2 separate regions of the Homo sapiens genome follow, and region 1 is linked to region 2. The links are contacts of gene promoters, found by promoter capture Hi-C in human tissues and cell types (Jung and others, 2019). All regions are on one chromosome and are shown on one strand. Each heading gives the region's core, a stretch centred on a gene start or on the middle of the fragment in contact. The rest is flanking DNA. Distances are from core to core; before and after follow the strand shown. Region 1 overlaps GBF1 (golgi brefeldin A resistant guanine nucleotide exchange factor 1). Region 2 holds the start of NOLC1 (nucleolar and coiled-body phosphoprotein 1).

Region 1 (3,603 bases), core at 701-3,200, 130 kb after region 2:
TTGGATGTTACTTCGCCACTACTTACAATGATACTATGTACAGATATTAAAACTCTAATGTTCCCATCTCCTTACTGTGTGGCTGGGTGGTTTCTTATTTTGATGTCTTCTACATCAAACTGTTGAGTTCCTAAGTGTTCTCTTCTTACCCCTCTCTTTTTTAGTCTCTCAGTTTCTACTTCTTGCATCTATATATTTTGTGATTTGTCTAATAGTCACTGTGATTAATGTTTTAGTTTGTTTTTCTTTTGTGAAAATTATTTTCTTCTTGTGAAAGGTGAAAATTAGTTTCTTCTTGTGAAAGGAGAAAACTGGTACAGAAATCTAGGACGCTGGAACTTCTAGCTCTCTCCGTTTTTTCTAGAATTGTAGCTTTCCTTCTTTTTTTTTCTTTGACTGTTTTCTCCAGTTTATATGTTGAGTGGTAGGTTTTTCTAACTTTTAGAAAAAAATTATTTTGCTATTTAATGTGTTTGCTGTATCTCCTTGAAATATTATAAATCAGAATACATTTTAGTGTTTATTGCTGCCATTGGTTGCTTTAAAAAAAAAGGTTGAACCTGTTTTCAAAGTAAACAAAATTGTAGCCTCTACTTACCTTCCTCCTTTCCCCACCACAATACACAGTGTTGTTGGGTTTGCAAATTCATCCTAACCATTTGATCAAAGTCAGGCTTTGAACAAGGCTTTATAGTGAGGTGTGGTGAATGACAGGTATGTCTGGATTTGGCCTTGAGAGATTTGGGGATGTAAAAGCATAAGGGTTTTTTTTTTTTTTTTTTTTTTTCTGTCTTTCTTTCTCTTCTCCTAATGTACTGTGGTCTATAATAGGTTGAGTTGTAACATTCATTAAACCACTCCTCGCATTCCCTGTTTTCAAAGCTTATCAGGATGACTTTGATTTAGTTATTTGGAACCAAAAAGGCAGTTTGTGGAGCCTGGTCTGGAGCTGTGTAGCAGTAATATATCAGAGATCAGACTTAGGTCCCAGTGGGATTATTCCTCGGGATTTATTTGCCTGGAAGTACACACAGGAGCCAAATGGTATGTATGGAAAGCTTTGCTGGAATGCAAATTGGACACATTTTGTTGGGACCTGTAGGGGATTTTCACTGCTTCATAATTTTTCAAAGGTTTGTTATACATCAGACAGTCACTGCCTCTTCTTTAAATCTTTAAATCCCCCCTCTTTTTCCTGTTGTAAAGGTCAGATTTTTTTTGACAACTGTGTGCAGGAACAAGATTTGCTAAATCCCTTCATTTTTATTCATACAAATATCGGAATTCAGTGAGCATCAGTTATTCCAGCATTTAGAGGTAAGGAAAACTCAGGGAGAATCTTGTGAATCTCAGCTTTGTGCTAGACATATATCTCTGGGGATAAATTTGCTGCCTCAACTTTAACCCCTTGACTGCTCTGATGTGAGACGACACCCTTACAGTGGCTGCCTTGTATGTGAAACCTACCCTTAACTAACCCCCATTTATGGCTGTAGGATATGTAATATAATTACTGGGAGGGGACTGTGTTGGACTCTTCTGATGGGGCCTTTTTGGCTGTGACAAGCCTTAGATTAGTGTTGGAAGAGAAGGACAATTCATTCCCTCCAGTGGAGCCCCTTCTTTAGGCATATTTAGCTTTTAATGGTATCATAGGCAATAACCACTTTTAATTTGCAGATGATTCTTTCTCAACCAGTAGATGAAATAATGATATCAAATGGTACATTTCCCCATCAAACTTGCTTAGTTTGATGTTATGTTATTATGTTATCGATTGCTGGGTAACAAATTACCCCAACAAATTACCTCTCCTACCCATCTATTGCTGGGTAGCAAATTACCCCCCAAAATGTGGCAGCTTAAAATTAAAAAACAAAAAAAATTTCACACAGTTTCTTTTATTTTATTTTCTTTTTTTTTTTTTTTTTTTTTTTTTTTGAGATGAGGTCTCACTGTGTTTCCCAGGCTAGTCTCAAACTCCTGGGCTCAAGTGATCCTCCCACCTTGGCCTCCCAAAGTGCTGGGATTACAGGCATGAGCCACTGCACCTGGTCTATTTCACACAATTTCTAAGGGTCAGGAATCTGGGAGCTGCTTAGCTAGTGGTTCTGGCTTAGGGTCTCTCAAGATGTCAGCCAGGGCAGCAGTCATTTGAAGGGGTGGGCTGGAAGATCCATTTCCAAGTTCATTCATGTGGTTGTTGGCCAGAGGCCTCAGTTCCTCACAATGTGGGCCTCTCAATAGGACTGCTCACAGCATGGAAACTAGATTCTCCATAGGTGAATGATCTGAGAGAGAGCAGAAGCCACACTTTGTTTTCTGACCCAACCTCAGAAGTAAACCTCAGGAGTAACCATCACTCCTGCTATATTATATTAGTCACATAGACCAACCTAAATACATAAAGATGTAATCACTGGGGACATCACTGGGAGTCATCTTGGAGGCTGGCCTTGCAGGAAGTTAAATGGAAATTTTTAGATGTTCACTGGGACTTCAAGATTGATTTTTTTAATTTGAAAAATTTTGTTCTCCCCAGTCAGCCCTGTCTCCCTGTCTTCTCCCAAACCTTTATGTCTCTGAAATTGTCCAATATGTATATGGCAAATATCTCTTTCTCTTCCTTTGCTGTCTCAGCCATAAGCGCTAGTAAAAACTTTCCGTTTTTCTAAAGCAAGCCAGTAAGCATGATCGATCTACCTCCTCTACCCGTTTTGCTGGGACATCCATGGCAGCTGGTCAAAGGAGGCTTCTGCTCATGAGAGCACTTCAACTGGATTCAGATAATCCTTTGTGGTTTCTCCACCTATTTACTACTGATCCTCTAAAATTTGGTGCAAATGAACTAGACTGACTAGAGTTACAGTGTTACCATGTTTTTTTCAGACTGAGATATATAATGATATAATGATATGAGCTCTTTTTGGATTCTATCCAGGATCTCCAAAATGGAGATAAAGACCTAATGCTCGGGAGTGATTTAAAAACGAAATTACGGCCGGGCGCGGTGGCTCACGCCTGTAATCCCAGCACTTTGGGAGGCCGAGGCGGGCGGATCATGAGGTCAGGAGATCGAGACCATCCTGGCTAACAAGGTGAAACCCCGTCTCTACTAAAAATACAAAAAATTAGCCGGGCGCGGTGGCGGGCGCCTGTAGTCCCAGCTACTCGAGAGGCTGAGGCAGGAGAATGGCGTGAACCCGGGAAGCGGAGCTTGCAGTGAGCCGAGATTGCGCCACTGCAGTCCGCAGTCCGGCCTGGGCGACAGAGCGAGACTCCGTCTCAAAGGAAAAAAAAAAAAACAAAAAAAAAAAACGAAATTACTTGTCACTAGATAGATTCATCTGGTCCTTTGTATACCAGTCAGATAAGAGCCTTAGGAGTTGGCCGCATGTGGTGGCTCACGCCTGTAATTGCAGCATTTTGGAACGCTGAGGCGGGCGGATTACTTGTGGCCAGGAGTTTGAGACCAGCCTGGCTAACACAGTGAAACCCCATCTCAACTGAAAATACAAAAAAATTATCTGGGTGTGGTGGCACACGTTTGTAATCCCAGCTACTTGGAAGGCTGAGGCATGAGAATCACTTGAACCCAGGAAG
Region 2 (4,075 bases), core at 327-2,826:
TTTTGAATTTTTTTGTTTTGTTTTGGAGATGGAGTCTTGTTCTGTCTCCCAGGCTGGAGTGCAGTGGCACGATTTTGGCTTACTGCAACCTCTGCCTCCCGGGTTCAAGTGATTCTCCTGCCTCAGCTTCCTGAGTAGCTGGGATTACAGGCACCCGCCACCATGCCTGGCTAATTTTTTTTGTATTTTTAGTAGAGACAGGGTTTCACCATGTTGGCCAGGGCTGTTCTTGAACTCCTGACCTCAGGTGATCCACCCACCTTAGCCTCCCAAAGTGCTGAGATTACAGGCATGAACCACCGTGCCCAGCTTTGTTTTTGATTTTTGAGATAGGATCTCACTCTGTGGCCCAGGCTGGATTGCAGTGGCAGGATCATAGCTCATTGCAGCTTTGACCTCCCTGGCTCAGTTGATCCTCCTGCCCCAGCCTCCCAAGTAGCTGGGACCACAGGTGCATGCCACTACACCTGGCTAATTTTAAAAATTTTTTGTAGAGATAGGGGGGTTTCACTGTGTTGTCCAGGCTGGCCTCTTAACTCCTGGGCTCAAGGGATCCTCCCACCTAGGCCTTCCAAAGTGTTGAGATAACAGTTGTGAGCCACTATGCCTGGCCAATTTTATATAGGAGAGGGGGGTGTGTTCCCATGAGGATCCTTATCTTTCCTGAGCGGCATTAGTGGGAGGTAGCCAAGGGGTAGTGGGTAGGATTGAAGGGATTGCTAACTGCTAATATCTGGAATGTGGCAGAACTTGGAATTAACTTGGTAGGTCTGAGCATTGATACTGGAGTTACTCATGACAAAGGCATTGATACTGGAGTTACTCATGACAAAGGCAGAGTGTGAACTCTGATCCCGGAGGAAGAAGGGTTATTTTCAACAATCTCTTCAGCTTGAATAGATTGTTGCTGTGTGTGATTCAGGTTTGGTGCATGACACCTTTCCTCTTCATGGAGCTGACCTAAGGCGGAATATAAGGGAGATGGGAGGGGCAGCTTGGGAAATCAACACCTCCCACCCTCACGACGGATAACCCGAAGGATCTTCTGCAGCAGAGGCAGGAGTCTGGAGGCTGGGATGGTATCAGAAAGGGCCTCCCTGGGTATTGGAGGCAGTGAAGATGAAGGGCGAGAATCCATTGGCCGTGCCAGTACGCCATGGGGGCGGTTGGGAGATCTTGTAGAACAACTGTTCGAGCCCGCTTGTCCACTCATTACTCTGGAATCCGAGTCCCAGCAGGGGCGCGGGAAACCGCTGCTCTGAGAAAAGGTACCTCCCCCAGAAAGACTGCGCGGGAAGTCCCGAGTTTTCCCGCCACGCCGAGGGCGTGATCCCTGACGTCAGAGCTCCGCCTCCACAAGCTGGCGGCCGGTGGGCTCCGCCCTTAACCAAGATGGCGATACGCGTGGGACCGGAAAGAGTTTATAGATTTCCCGTCTACCCTACCTCTGAGGTGAAGGTGGGACTGCCCTGTGGAGCCCACCCTTTCCGTTATGCGCCCGCGCGGCGCAATGACGTAACACAGGCCCGCCCACTGCCCCTGTTGGGTTCCTGAGTCGTGCTGCGTCGACAACGGTAGTGACGCGTATTGCCTGGAGGATGGCGGACGCCGGCATTCGCCGCGTGGTTCCCAGCGACCTGTATCCCCTCGTGCTCGGCTTCCTGCGCGATAACCAACTCTCAGAGGTGGCCAATAAGTTCGCCAAAGCGACAGGAGCTGTGAGTTCCGGGCTTGGGGCGGGGACCGGGCTGAGATGACCACAAGGCTTCAGGCCCTGACGTGCTTAGGTTTCCAGGTGGGGAAGTCTGGGGGTCCGCCAGTCCAGTGTCTGCAAGGCCTTTACGCCGACCCCTCGGCAGTGACCAGAGAAAGCCTGCGGCCTCGGTCGCTTACCTTCCTCCATGTCTGAGTAGATATCGCTGAGTCTTGTTGCTTTTTTCTTGTGACCTGTGCAGCGGCGGCAGCGTGGGAGCCTCGTGGCCCCAAGCCACATGGCTGGCAGAGTGCAGCGGGGAGGTAGAGTCTTGTTCCACTGAGGACGTTGGTTCTTCGGCATCTTCTGGGGGGCTTTTCGTTGGGTGAGGCAAACCGTGATTTGACCTTAGCCTCAGTCACATTTACTGGGATTCAAAAGCAAGTGAAATTTCTTTAGAATGAAGTCTGGGATTTTCGTTTGTAAAGAAGAAAATGAATGAAAGTAGAAGCAGAGTTTTGTTTTGAGTTACACTGAGAATTGAGAGTCATCAACAGCCCTACCAAGTAGGCATAGTAGTGGGCTTGGAGCTTTGGCTAATTGAATCAAACAAACCTAGGTTTGGGACCAGGCTCTGCCACTTTTTAGATACGTGACCCGGGCAGTTTATTTAACCTTTCTGAGTCTTTCTACAGGGATGTCATCATCCACTTTATAGGATTTTTGTGAGTTTCAGTAAGATGATGTGTAAGAGTAGCAATCTCAGTGCTGGTACAGAGGAATCTTGTAAAAGTGAAAGCTGTACCATAGTTATGGCAATTTAGGATGCTCCAAACACATGTAAGAGTAAGAGAACCAGGAATGTGAAAGGTTTGTAATCTACATCAACGGACATTCCTGCATGGGAAGACACTTTGAGAGAGGAGAGAGGGGGGGTCTTCAGCAGGGATGATAGCATGACTAGGAAGGATGGCTTGCACTTTTAGCAGAATCAGGCTGCGAAAGCAAAGAATCAGATCAGCCTCAAAACTTCCTTAAGCTGGGACAGGCTGCCATGTGATCTAACTGCTTTCTTAATGAAACTGTTTAGAGTTGACTGTTAAGGAGACTGCGGAGAGTGCTTTCACAGTGGACTGGATGGAATTGGACATTTCAGAATTAGGATTCTTTTTTTTTTTTTTTTTTTTTTGAGACGGAGTCTCTGTTGCCCAGGCTGGAGTGCAATGGTGCGATCTCGGCTCATTGTAACCTCCGCCTCCCAAGTTCAAGTGATTATCCTGCCTCAGCCTCCCCAGTAGCTGGGATTACAGGCGCGTACCACCACGCCCGGCTAATTTTTGTATTTTTAGTAGAGATGAGGTTTCACCATGTTGGCCAGGCTGGTCTTGAACTCCTGACCTCAAGAAATCCACTTGCCTCAGCCTCTCAAAGTGCTGGGATTACAGGCGCGAGCCACCGTGCCCGGCCTCAGGATTAGGATTCTGAAATGGTTTTATGTGAGAAAAGCTAATCTTTGTGAAGAGCTAACTAAGGGTCAGATGCTACGCCCTTCACATGCATTTAATTTTTTTTTTTTTTTTTTTTGAGGCGGAGTCTGGCTCTGTCGCCCAGGCTGGAGTGCAGTGGCACGATCTCAGCTCACTGCAACCTCTGCCTCTCAGGCTAAAGTGATTCTCCTGCCTCAGCTTCCCAAGTAGCTGGGACTACAGGTGTGCCCCACCATGCCTGGCTAATTTTTTTTTTTTTTTTTTGTATTTTTAGTAGAGACGGGGTTTCACCATGTTGGCCAGGCTGCTCTTGAACTCCTGACCTCAAGAATCTACTGCCTCGGCTTCCCAAAGTGCTGGGATTACAGGTGTGAGCCACCGCACCCGGCCAACATGCATTATGTCTTATCCTCTCAATAACTTAATGAGATGTGTAGTATTATCTCCATTTTATAGAAAAGAAAATAATCTCAGGGAGATAAGGTAATTTGTCCAAAGGTGAGTTCCCATCTGTACTGACTCTGATCATTTACTCTTTTTTGGACCACAGAGTCTCACTGTTGCCCAGGCGGGAGTGCAGTGGTGCAATCTCAGCTCACTGCAACCTTTGCCTCCCAGGTTGAAGCGATTCTTGTGCCTCAGCCTCATGCCTCAGCCTCCCAAATAGCTGGGATTACAGGCGCCCGCCTCCACGCCCAGCTTATGTTTGTATCTTTAGTAGAGATGGGGTTTCACCATACCAGCCAGGCTGGTCTCAAATTCCTGATCAGGTGATCCACCCACCTCAGCCTCCCAAAGTGTTGGGATTACAGGCCCGTGAGCCACTGCACCTGGCCTGATCCTGTACTCTTCTGTGTATTGTTTTGTGTTTGTTTGTTTCTTTTAGAGGGTCTCA

The links. The method cuts DNA at HindIII sites, captures the fragments that hold promoters and counts their contacts. A contact is called where the count stands out against the background at its distance.
Region 1: a fragment that was not itself captured here is called in contact with the fragment with the promoter of NOLC1 in region 2 in 1 of the 25 tissues and cell types used here (H1 embryonic stem cells).

The regions. Positions count from the first base shown.
Region 1 is chr10:102,285,431-102,289,033 of GRCh38, forward strand. The region is part of intron 3 of GBF1 (golgi brefeldin A resistant guanine nucleotide exchange factor 1); the gene reads left to right. Among named protein-coding and RNA genes, the nearest start is that of GBF1, 42 kb to the left of the region's middle. The HindIII fragment of the contact is 5,851 bases long and covers 1-3,603 here.
Region 2 is chr10:102,150,813-102,154,887 of GRCh38, forward strand. NOLC1 (nucleolar and coiled-body phosphoprotein 1) reads left to right here and starts at 1,577. Exons shown (of 13, transcript NM_004741.5): 1 at 1,577-1,718. The coding sequence starts at 1,599. RefSeq lists enhancers at 1,063-2,262, 1,168-1,467, 1,638-1,687. The HindIII fragment of the contact is 9,767 bases long and covers 1-4,075 here.